Linked DNA regions of Homo sapiens: region 1 is linked to region 2. The links are contacts of gene promoters, found by promoter capture Hi-C in human tissues and cell types (Jung and others, 2019). All regions are on one chromosome and are shown on one strand. Each heading gives the region's core, a stretch centred on a gene start or on the middle of the fragment in contact. The rest is flanking DNA. Distances are from core to core; before and after follow the strand shown.

Region 1 (5,913 bases), core at 1,844-4,343, 230 kb before region 2:
GGCTGATGGGTGATGGGTGAGTGGGTGGGTGGATGGATGGAAGACAGATGATGGATGATGATGAGTGGGTGCATGGGTGGATGGATGGATGAATGGATGATGGGTGATGGGTGATGATGGGTGGGTGGGTGGGTGCGTGGGTGGATGGATGAATGGATGATGGATGATGGGTGATGATGGGTGGGTGGATGGATGGACGAATGGATGATGGATGATGGGTGATGATGGGTGGGTGGATGGATGGATGGATGGATGATGGGTGATGGGTGATGATGGGTGGGTGGATGGATAGATGGATGATGGGTGATGGGTGATGATGGGTGGGTGGATGGATGGATGGATGATGGGTGATGGGTGATGATGGGTGGGTGGATGGATGGCTGGATAGATGATGGGTGATGGGTGATGATGGGTGGGTGGGTGGATGGATGGATGGATGACAGATGATGGGTGATGATGGGTAGGTGGATGGATGGATGGATGAATGGATGATGGATGATAGGTGATGATGGGTGGATGGATGGATGGATGAATGGATGATGGGTGGGTGGGTAGATGGATGGATGAATGGATGATGGGTGATGGTGGGTGGTTGGGTGGGTGGATGATGGGTGATGGTGGGTGGGTGAGTGGATGATGGATGATGGGTAATGGGTGATGGTGGGTGGGTGGGTGGATGGCTGGATGATGGATGATGGGGGATGATGGGTGGGTGGGTGGATGATGGATGATGGGTAATGGGTGATGAGGGTGGGTGGGTGGATGAATGGTTGGATGAATGGATGATGGGTGGGTGGGTGGATGGATGGATGGATGATGGATAATGGGTAATGGGTGATGATGGGTGGGTGGGTGGGTGGATGGATGGATGAATGGATGATGGATGATAGGTGATGATGGGTGGGTGGGTGGGTGGATGGATGAATAGATGGGTGATGGGTAGATGCGCAGATAGATGGATGACTAGATGGAGAGATGGATGATGGATGCATGGAGAGATGGATGATGGATGCATGGGTAGATGGGTGGATGGATGGGTGAGTGGATGGATGATGGATGGGTGGGTAGATGGGTAAATGAGTGAACAGATGGATGATAGGTTGACGGACAGATGGATGGACTACAATGAGTAGATGGACTGGTATATGGATGGGTGGATAAATGCCATCCCGTCCTATACCTCCAGGTGCTACCATGCTCTGCATCTCACAAAGGGTTGCTCTCTTTGTAAGGTGAGAGTCATGGCTGGCACCAGAGAAGGAGGCTGGTACGACAGCCGCCTGCTTCCTCCCCTTGGCCAACTGGCTCTGCTCACTCTGTGAAGGGTGAAGGTCAGGAGTTCCAGGGCTTCTCCTCCAGAAGTACTCAGGGGGAGCAGGCCTCTCTACGTTTGGACCTCCAGCTCCACAGAGGTCCCCACACCCTGTTCACCTCTATCCTGGAAACATGGGGGAGCCCAGCCTCAGACTAAAACACAGTTCAGAACTGCTGCCAGAGGACAGTGGTCTTCACATGTGCATACACGACTAAGCACAGATAAGGATGTTATCACATAGGGGACAAACAAAACACTCAGTGAGAAATACATCTGGAAATACAGGATGCTATTCAGACAGCAGGAGGGTGGGGACTGAAGGACTGCCTCTTTGTTCCCATCTCTCTCCCCTCCCACTGGTCATGAACTTAGCAGCAGTGCTGTGAGTGAATGAGGCTACAGCAGCAGCCACTGAGCACTGGCTGGGTGCAGGAAGCGCTCCATATATGGGCACTAACTGCTACTCAGAATCCTGCCCTGTGGCTCCCAGACCTCTCCCAGGTCTCGTGCTGGCAGCATCTGCCAGGGTGGCAGTGTCTGCTTGATGGGGACTCTGGCCAGTATTTAAATGGTACATTATTCTTTAGCCCTATTTTCCTGATGATTAAGCTAACCCATCTGAGGCTCACACACAGTCAACAGTCAATTATTTGCCCTGTGGAAGGCAGTAACTGCAAGTATAATCCAGGAGTGATGAAAAAAATCACTGAAATTATATTGCCACTGAAGCCAACTAAAACCCGTAACTTGCTACTACATTGTTTTCATCAAAGAATTACATTTTAAAAGGCGTACATTGTATCAGTCTTAGGGAAAAAACCATGCAATACACATGATTTACAGTACCTTAGAAATATACAGTATAAAAGACTATTTTACATCTTATAAAACTTTGCCAGTTTGGTATAAATGTGATGGCCAATCTTAATAATATCGATAATTTCAAAGGTATTTTTATTAGTTTCAAAGATAATGCTTATTACAAAATACCAACAGCGAGAACTAACACATAACATGATACTGTTTAGTAACACTCACAATGAACTTACTCACATAGGAATGACCAAGGAACACAAGCCATTTAATATGTGGGCCTCATTGTTACATCTTATAACCCTCTCAATTTCTTATAACCTTGGTCTGAAAATGCAACATATTTGAGAGTGGTTTTCCCACTGCAGAATGAGATTATGGAATGCATGAAAAAGACATTTTAAGCTTGAATCACAGTAAATTCCAAAAGAATGATGACAGAATTATTCTTGTACTTCTCAATATTTTTCCCAACTTAAATAATTAGTGATGAGTGTCCATGGGAAAAGTGGTGGTAATTCTAAATTGAGGGTATTTGGTAAAAATGTCCTTTAGTTTTTGCCTGTGCCTTTGTTTTACTCCCTATTGCCTGTCTTAGTGACATCTCAATTTCCAAAGCTTAACTGAGGAAACAAAAACAGGCCAATGCTGTGACCTCTTGAGGTGAGGGCAGAGGGGGCCGCACAGACTGGCTGTCCTGAGACCGCCCGTCAGTCCAGGAAAGCATCGAGGGTGTGGCATCCCCAGCCCTGGACACAAGCACCTGGCAGCACGGTGCACAGAGGGCCCAGGGTCAGGGGTTCCCCACTCCCAGACACAGACTTCCATTAGGTGCTGTCACCTTTGTTATATTACAAGGTACTATTACAAGATTGCTGACTTTGAGATTCATCTGTTCTTCTTCTTAGGAAGCCACACCAAAAAACCGAGGTTAATTTTACTTCCTGAAGAAACAGCCATCTCCTGCCACAGCATGTCCCAAGGGCCCTGTGGTGGTGAAGCGCTGTACTCCAGTCCTGTCGGGTGGGGGACACTAAGGGGGCGCCCAGAAGACACAGAGGCAGAGGCACTGATCACGCCTGTGTTCAGCTGTTCTCCGGGCTAGACACATCTTTTCACTAAGGCATTTTCTATTAATTATTTCATATTATACAAAGAGAAAAAAAAAACATCAACAGCTTTTAAAGCAGCAATTTAGGTCCAAAAACCAGTAGCTTGTGATGTGTATAGTCATGGACAACTTTTGAATCTGGTTTTGAGAAAAAAAATCTAGATTTTAATGACTTAAAACATTAAGTTGAATTAAAAACTGGTATTAACCTGGAGTGCAGAATGTAAGGAATTTGCTCTCCATTCTTTTAAAGGGGAAATATTTTCACAATGGTTGCTCAGCCTTGCTTTCTGCAGCATGAAGAACAGTTTTAATGTAGAAAAGTCATTAATGAAGAGTGCGGCAAAGGAAATCTCATATAAGCATCTGTCTCTGGGAGAAAAACCTTTTCTGTAGCTCAAAGCTACAAACTTTAAAGTTTTATAAATATCTTTCCAAAGACATACTCCAGACTCTGAAGCTAAATGATTTCTATTCATGTTTACAGACATGTTTTTGAATCTTCCTTTTTAAGTGCCCCTATCTAAAATTCTATAAAATGCCAACAACAAAAAAGGCACTCAAAAAGGGAAAATAGGAAGTAACTGGCATCAGCAAGATTAATTCACAAAGCCGTCTATCCCAGAAAACACTTCTGTATTGCATTAAAGACAAATGCTTCACACTGAAGAATAAAAACTAAATGAATTACCTTTCCTCTCAGAGCGCTTCTTGCGCCTCCTTTTATACCGACGCCCCATGATGCTGAAAAAGGTCCCCATGTGCAAAGGCCCAGTGGTGGACGACGCCATGCAGACACGCCAATGCCAGTCCGGCCGGCCCCAGCCTCATTCTGTCCCTCAGTCACTCGGGGCAGCAGCACACCGACTCACTTCCGTGTGCCGGCAGCTGCGACAACAGCAGCCCCTACCGACGAGGGAGCCTCCTCCTCTGCCTCGGGCCCATTCATCATGCCGCAGTTAGGCAGAACTAGGCTGAAGGGGCCCACACACCACAATGACTTCAGAGCACACCACCCAGAGAATGACATGTGACAGCTAACCGTTCAGCGCAGTCACAGTAAAACACCACGAGCAGAGGGGAGAGAACGACAGCCGTGAATCTTCTAGGGAAACAAATCTCCCACAGCAGACGTACCAAAGTCCTGTTTAAATGGAAATCCTAATACAAAAAATCTATCAATAAAAGAGTACAGTTTAGAAAATAAAACTGCAAAAAGTAACAGGCTACCACACAACACAATGCAGAGGCTCAGCAGACGCCAGCTGATGAAAACAGCTCCATATAAAGTGCAGGTGAGTGGTCAGGATGTCACCAGTGAAATCCCTGGGACAGGAAACTGCAGGCCACTGACAAATGGATCCCCCCGCCCCCAGAGAGTGCTCTTCCTCCTCTCTTAACTCACGTGTCTCGGACCAATGCTGACCTGCCTTGTTCATTACTGCAGAGCAGGGGCACAGCTCATGCCCCAGGTGAATGACACACAGCCAAGGGAGGGGCAAACGCCAACATCTTCCCATTTTCCACTGTGCCTGGCTTGATCAGCACAGCCAGTCTGTGACTAGCACAGTACCATGGCCAGCCTGGGGCGAGCAGGGACACACATCACACACATGTACATGCACACACATCACATACACACATCATACAGCACTTGGTGCCTCTGCCACTCGGGATCCAGCATTCAGGGCTGGCAAAGCAGAACCCACAGCCCTCAGCCTCCTCTTGTCTAGAAAAACGCTGTTCAGGCCCCAGGGAGATACCTCCCCTGAGATGGCCTGTGTCTCTGGAACAAAAGGCAGCTGCATCCAAATGCCCTGAAGATTAGGCTGTCTTGGAAGGAGTCCGATTATGGGGAGGAGTCAAGCAGAAGAAGCACTCATAGGCAAAAGAAAAAAAAGACAAATTAATTAGTCAGATTCTTTCTCTTGCCACAATGCAATTACTGTCTCGTGTAACAAAGTACCTTTTCCTAATAATGACCAACATCCACTTTCTAATTCATTATTCCAATTAGTGCAATGCTTGTGACAACTGCACATGGCACCTAAGGAAATTATGCCATATTAAGCAATTCTTATTACTCTTAAATTTGTGTGTGTCCAGACACACTCTGCGTAAGCATAGTGAATTCTTTTCATTTTCTATTGCCTCAGCATCTATCTGGAATATGAGCTGCACTTTCTCCTAGTAGCGGCAGAGTTCAGCCACCCCTGACACTTTGTAGTTCTACACCACACCCAGTGGCTCAAGCCAGTACCAGAGATGAGAACCTAGAGGCATCTTTCACTCAGGCACCTGCCCACACACTTCAAGTGACCCCACCCTACTCCCTTATTTGTTCTGCTGGTTGGCTGCAGTGCTCTCTCTCTCTGCCTGACCCTTTGTTCCTGCTTGCATGACCCAGGGACAGAGGACTGCCCTCCTGACTCATGGCACCCTCCCTGCTCAGGACCTGTAAGTAAAAATCTTTGAACATGTTTCCCCCATTGTGTGGTGTACTGAATTTGTGCCTGAATTTGTGTTGGGCTCCTGGCACGAGTGACGGTCAGGCAGGAATAACCTGGACATGGATCAGACAAGAGCCACCAGGGCATGTGTCAGTACACACACATTTCCAGAGGGACCCCTTGGTCACAGGTGGAACAACGAGACATCAGGCCCGACCGCCAGG
Region 2 (5,626 bases), core at 718-3,217:
TTTTGTCTCTTTATTTCTAAAACCCAACGCAAGACCTTGTTGATTTAAAACAAGAAAATGTAACCCATTCACAGGTGCTGTGATTCCTGATGGGTTTGAAATTATTCCCAATGTTTTATTGTTTGGTTTTTATTTACCTTTCTTGTTTGTTCTATTTTCCCTTACTTTTTTCTTTTAAAGGATTTGCCTTTTTTTTTTTTTTTTTTTCTCAGTTACCCAGACTGGAGTGCAGTGGTGTAAGCATGGTTCACCGTAGCCTCAACCTCTTGGGCTCAAGCAATTCTCCCACCTCAGCCTCCCAAGTAGCCTGGACCATATCGCGTGCTACCATGCCTGGCGAATTCTTAGAAAATTTTTTTGTAGAGATGAGGGTCTGGGTCTCCAAATGTTGCCTAGGCTGGTCTCGAACTCCTGGGCTCAAGTGATCCTCCCACCTCGGCCTCCCAAAGTGCTGGGATTACAAGTTTGAGCCACCATGCCCAAAATAAAGATTTGTCATATTTTTTTTCAGGTATATACATGCTATTTTTATTCTTAAGGAGACTCTTGAATTGTTAGCATATATACTTAGATATTTTCTATCAAAATGCCCACTGACAAGCATCTATATTCCTCCCCAGATAGGATGGAACGGCAATGTGCTCCCTGGCCCCTCCCAACCCAGTCCTCTAGGCGTTTTGTTTCACAGCGTTAATATTCTTACCACTATTTTTTAAATCAACAGGTTATGACATCATAATTTTTACTTATTTCTTTGCCCAACTTTGTATCATCTGCTCTTGTATTTCTCATGGATTTCTTCATGTCTATTTCTGCAAGACATCTTTAAAACAGAGTTTAGGAGCCGGGAGCCATGGCTCACGCCAGTAATCCCAGCACTTTGGAAGGCAGAGGTGGATGGATCACTTGAAGCCAGGAGTTCAAGACCAGCCTGGTCAACATAGTGAAACCCTGTCTCTACTAAGAATACAAAAATTACCCAGGCGTGGTGGTACATGTGCCTGTAATCCCAGCTACTTGGGAGGCTGAGGCAGGAGAATTGCTTGAACCCGGGAGGCAGAGGTTGCAGTGAGCTGAGATCACGCCACTGCACTCCAGCCTGGGTGACAAAAGCAAAACTCTGTCTCAAAAAAAACTGAAAACATAAAAATAAATAAATAAATAAAACAGAGTTTAGGGTAGTAATGTGTCTGAGTCCTTGCTCTGAAGATGTCTGATTTGGGTTTTTTTTCTAGGTATAATCTCTTTCCCTCCTCTTCCTCCTCCTCCTCCTCTCCCTTCTCTCTCTCTCTGAGCCTGTAGTATTTTCCCTTTCGTGTTCTGTGGTATCCTCCTAATGTCCCTAGTTAACAGGACCTCATCCATCCATCCCTGGGGTGTTCAGTGGCCTCGCAATCCACGTCCCCGCCCAGATCCGCAGCCTTCCTCCTGTGACCTGAGTGTCTCCTCCTCGCTGTCCCTGTTCTGTCCCCTCCCGCCCTCACATGCAGGTGGATGTCAATGCGTGCACGCACCCAGGTTTTCTTGCCTGTTCCCACCTCTTTATCCTCCTTGGCTGGTTCCTCCGCTCCATTCTCTGGCTCAGGAATTTGCTCCCCAGGGTTTTTCATTCCGCTCTGTAGCAGAATGTGCTACTGTTGCTTTCCAGCATCAAACTTTTCACTCCCATGGCCTCTGTGTTCTTCTTCCTAATGGGTGCCCTTTCTGCCTGGCGCTCCTGGAGGCCGGGCCCCTCTCCCAAGTGTGAATCTGATGGAAGCAGGTCCTTCTCGCCGGGACCTCATGTGAGAAATGACATGTCCCACCTGTCTCAAGGGGCCGCTCTCTGACATCAGAGCTGCTGTAGAGCGGAGAGGGGCAGGGGTGAAGGGCCACGGTGGTGCAACCCACCACTTCCTCCAAGGAGGAGCTGAGAGGAACAGGAAGTGTCAGGACTTTACGACCCGCGCCTCCAGCTGAGGTTTCTAGACGTGACCCAGGGCAGACTGGTAGCAAAGCCCCCACGCCCAGCCAGGAGCACCGCCGAGGACTCCAGCACACCGAGGGTGAGTGTGCAGAGGCCCCGCTATGTCCACGGTGATTTTTGGAGGGAAGCACTCTCCTGCCCCAGCCTGGAGTGACCCTGGTGGCCCTGCTTATAGCCCCGGCCCAGGGGTGTCTGGCAGGAAGGGGTCTCCAGACCGTCTGCTCCAGGGTCCCCTTTGAGACCCGGCAAGGGGAAGTGCCTGCCACCAAGAGCAGAGCCACATGGTGTGCTGGGAGCGCTTGCGGCTGAGGATGGGGCCGGCATGGGAGGACAAGGGGCTGTGAGGCCGGCAAGGCCAGGAAGAGGCTGGGCCCACAAGCCCCTAGGGGGACGGCTGGGGGGTCCTGGTGCTCCGGGCTGGGCAGGAGGCAGGTTCCCGGGGCCTCCTCTGTGAACCTGCTGCGCCTGCCTGTGTTAGGCCCTCCTGTCTGCATGCTGCCCCGCCTGGCTACAGCGATTCCATCTCCAGATCGACTCGCAGTGTGTGGTGTGTGATATGGTGTGGTGTGGTTCGTGGTGTGTAGTGTCGTGTGTGTAGTGTGGCATGGTGTGCATGTATGGTGCACGTGTGTGGCATAGCGTAGTGTGGTGTGTGTGTGTGCATGTATGGTGTGCGAGTGTGCGCATGTGATGTGGGGAGTCTGTTGTATGTACATGTATGGTGCACATGTGTAATGTAGTGTGGTGTGGTGTGGCACATGCTCCATGCTCCTCTGGGACCCTCGAGCTTCCCTGCCTCCTCCGTGGGGACCCCTGGGTGACGTCTTGCTGTAGGGGAGCGGGCACCGCTGTGCGATTCTGGTCGAGTTGGTTCAGCTGGTGACCCTGGCCTCCCCACAACAGGCTCCTGGAGGCCATTCCCAAGGTCCTGGTGGGAGGGGGATTGAAGCCACGCCCCTGGGTCCCAGGCCCACCTGGCCCCCTTCCCCCAACACTGCACTCTTGGGGCCAGCCCTCCCCATGCATCCTCCACCCCTGGCACCACCCCTTGCACCACCGTCCCCACACCCAATCCCCCCTCCCCTGGATCTGGGAGCTGGGATTCTGCCCTGCTGTCCCTGTCCATCCGGGGCCCCTCTCCTCTGTCAGTTCCTGGGTGGGGAGAAGGAGGGGTGGCATGGCTGCAATGGGGAAGGGGGGGGATGGCCGGAGAGCTCAGCCTGGGAGCGAGCTGTGGGGGCATAGGGGACACTCGCTGTCACTCGCCTTCCCCGTGACGGTGGCGCAACGCCTGCGGGTTTGGGGGCTGAGGCCGGATTCTGGAGGCTTCACAGAAATGAGCTGCTAGAAGCTCTGGGCTGTCTGCCGTCACCCCAGCGTTTCACCATGAGTGAAGCCCAGCTCACTGCAGAATCCATGCCCAGCTCACTGCAGAATCCCCGGGGGCCAGCACTTTACCAAGAGTGGCCTCCAGACTCCACATTTTAGGAAGGAACTCCTTCCCCATCCAGCTCACAGCAGAATCCCCAGGGTCCCTGCCAGCCTGGCACCCAGCGTGCCCCTCAGTATTCTGGGGATGAGTGGGGGAGTCCCTCTGCTGGGAAGAGGTCCCTGGCTACGTCCCTGCAGGGCGGCGGCTGAGCCCATGCCTCGGCCCCAGGGCCAGTCCCCGCCGGGTGCCATCCTGAGCAGGGCCACAGAACAGATGTCCCACATGGCCAGGACCCCTGTGGCCACCTGACCCCGGGGGGGCTGTGGCCCTCGGTGAAGCAGGTGACCGGGCGGGCTGTGGGGTTTGTCAGCTCCGCAGCGTCACTGCCGCTCAGCGTATGAGTTTCCACTCCCAGCACTCAATGAACAGCTGAGCAACTGCAGGTGCCTCCGAGTGCTGGGAGAGGGGAATGCTCAGCTCCGAGTGCTGGGAGAGGGGACGCTCAGCTCCGAGTGCTGGGAGAGGGGACGCTTAGCCACCCAAGGGCCTTTGCCTCAAGGGAGTAAATAGGGGCATTTCCTGGTGGGCGTGGGCTGGGCTGGAGAAGCAGGGCCTCCTGGCAGGGGCTGGCATGAGATCCAAACACTGCCCAGGCAGCTGGACACTCCTGAGCCTGGAGCTTCTCACCTGAACCACAGGGTGGTAACCCCTGCCCCTCAGGCGGCATCGACGTGACCTGCCTAGTGCACAGTGAGCCTGAGGCAACACGGCCACCACCAGGAGACTCCCTGGGGAAGAGGCCCCCAGACAGCGAGGTGCCCATGAAGGAAGTTCTGCACAGGGGCCGCGGCCATCCAGGAGATGGGAGGGGCCCTATCTGCACCCTGTCTGGAAGGGGCATGGGGTGAGCAGGCTATTTGGTCCCCCGTGACTCAGTTTCCCCATCTGTGAAACAGGAGGGGTGGTCTGGCCAATTGTGCGCACTCCAGCTGTCTCTATAGTCAACCGTGTAACTTGAACTCACTTCCCCAGGGCTCCTGCCAGGCCCAGGTCTGTCCACTCTGGCCCAGGCCGGGCCCCACCAGGTACCAGGGCTGTGGGACATTTGCCTCTGTGGATGGGGCAGCGTGACGCCTGTGGCGATTCCATGGAACAGGTCCTGTGTGGGCCCCCCTTGCTGCACTCGTGTCCTGTGTCAGAGAACCGTGGTCCTGCCTGAGGCCATGTCACCGGAGGCTGGCTCCCGTTCCCGGAGGAGAATGCCAGCTGCCACAGGGGTCAGTGACACAGGCATTTGCCCAGCAGGTACAGGCCAGGTCGCTGGGAAGCCCCAACTCAAGGGGCTCTGCAGTGGGCGCCTAGCAATTATGGAGCTGTGGGTGATACCCACCCCAAGCCGGACCTGGTGCCAGCAATTATCCCTCCCATTCTGCTTGGCACAAACTGGCACTGACACGGGGCATTGATTAGGTGGTTGCATTTGTCGATTCCGAGCCCATGTGTGTGGAGCCCAGGCCCTGAGCAAGCACAGAGGGCCCTGGTGCTGTCCTGAGCTGAGGCCCCTGCCCACCCCGGGCTGCGTGTTCTCTCCGGCCATTCAGGGTCTGAGAGTGCAGAAGAGTTAGCCCCAGGGGAACACCTTCCTGCCCAGCTGATTTGTAAACAGCCTCGCTGGGGACACATGTTGGTGTTGGGAGTGGTGGAGGTTTCTGTGTGTGATGGAAACTTGGGGTAGGTGTTGGGGAAAAGAGGTGCTGAGAGTCTCAGCAGAGGGCAGAGTCCAGGAGTCCTGGAGTGCAGCTCTCAGCCCCTGCGCCGTGCCTAGAGGAGAGGCTGGCAAGCCCCTGTCCCATGGATGGGTGAATGGGTGAGTGACAGTGGCAACAAGCCCATGCCAGCAGGGAGGTCCCACTGCCATGAAGCAGCGTCCTCATCAACGTCACAGTGGGAACAAGAAAGCCAGTAGCTTTGGAATCCGAAGGAGCAATTTCAGCATAATTCGTCGGCCACCATGAAATTCCATTTTTAAAATGTCCTTTATTCATTTATCACAAAAAGGGTGGAAAATACAAACAGGAATAATGAAAATTGAAAATACTCATAGTGCCACCACCCAGAGAAATGCAGAATATTTTGGAACTGTGTCTCTCTTTTTTTCCCCATAAATTCACTTTTACCACGAAGCCAAGCTGCCCTGAGCAGCTGTTTGCATGTTTTCGTTGCTGTGT

The links. Contacts are between HindIII fragments. The study calls those that stand out against the background at their distance.
Region 1: a fragment that was not itself captured here is called in contact with the fragment with the promoter of ITGB2 in region 2 in 3 of the 25 tissues and cell types used here (dorsolateral prefrontal cortex, heart left ventricle and spleen).

Annotation. Positions count from the first base shown.
Region 1 is chr21:45,150,726-45,156,638 of GRCh38, reverse strand. All of the region lies in intron 2 of ADARB1 (adenosine deaminase RNA specific B1), which reads right to left. Among named protein-coding and RNA genes, the nearest start is that of ADARB1, 79 kb to the right of the region's middle. RefSeq lists an enhancer at 4,430-5,286. The HindIII fragment of the contact is 4,613 bases long and covers 787-5,399 here.
Region 2 is chr21:44,917,240-44,922,865 of GRCh38, reverse strand. It overlaps ITGB2 (integrin subunit beta 2), which reads left to right and starts at 1,967. Exons shown (of 16, transcript NM_000211.5): 1 at 1,967-2,045. ITGB2-AS1 (ITGB2 antisense RNA 1) reads right to left here and starts at 1,831. Exons shown (of 3, transcript NR_038316.1): 1 at 1,539-1,831. RefSeq lists a silencer at 3,317-3,376 and an enhancer at 4,460-5,372. The HindIII fragment of the contact is 46,650 bases long and covers 1-5,626 here.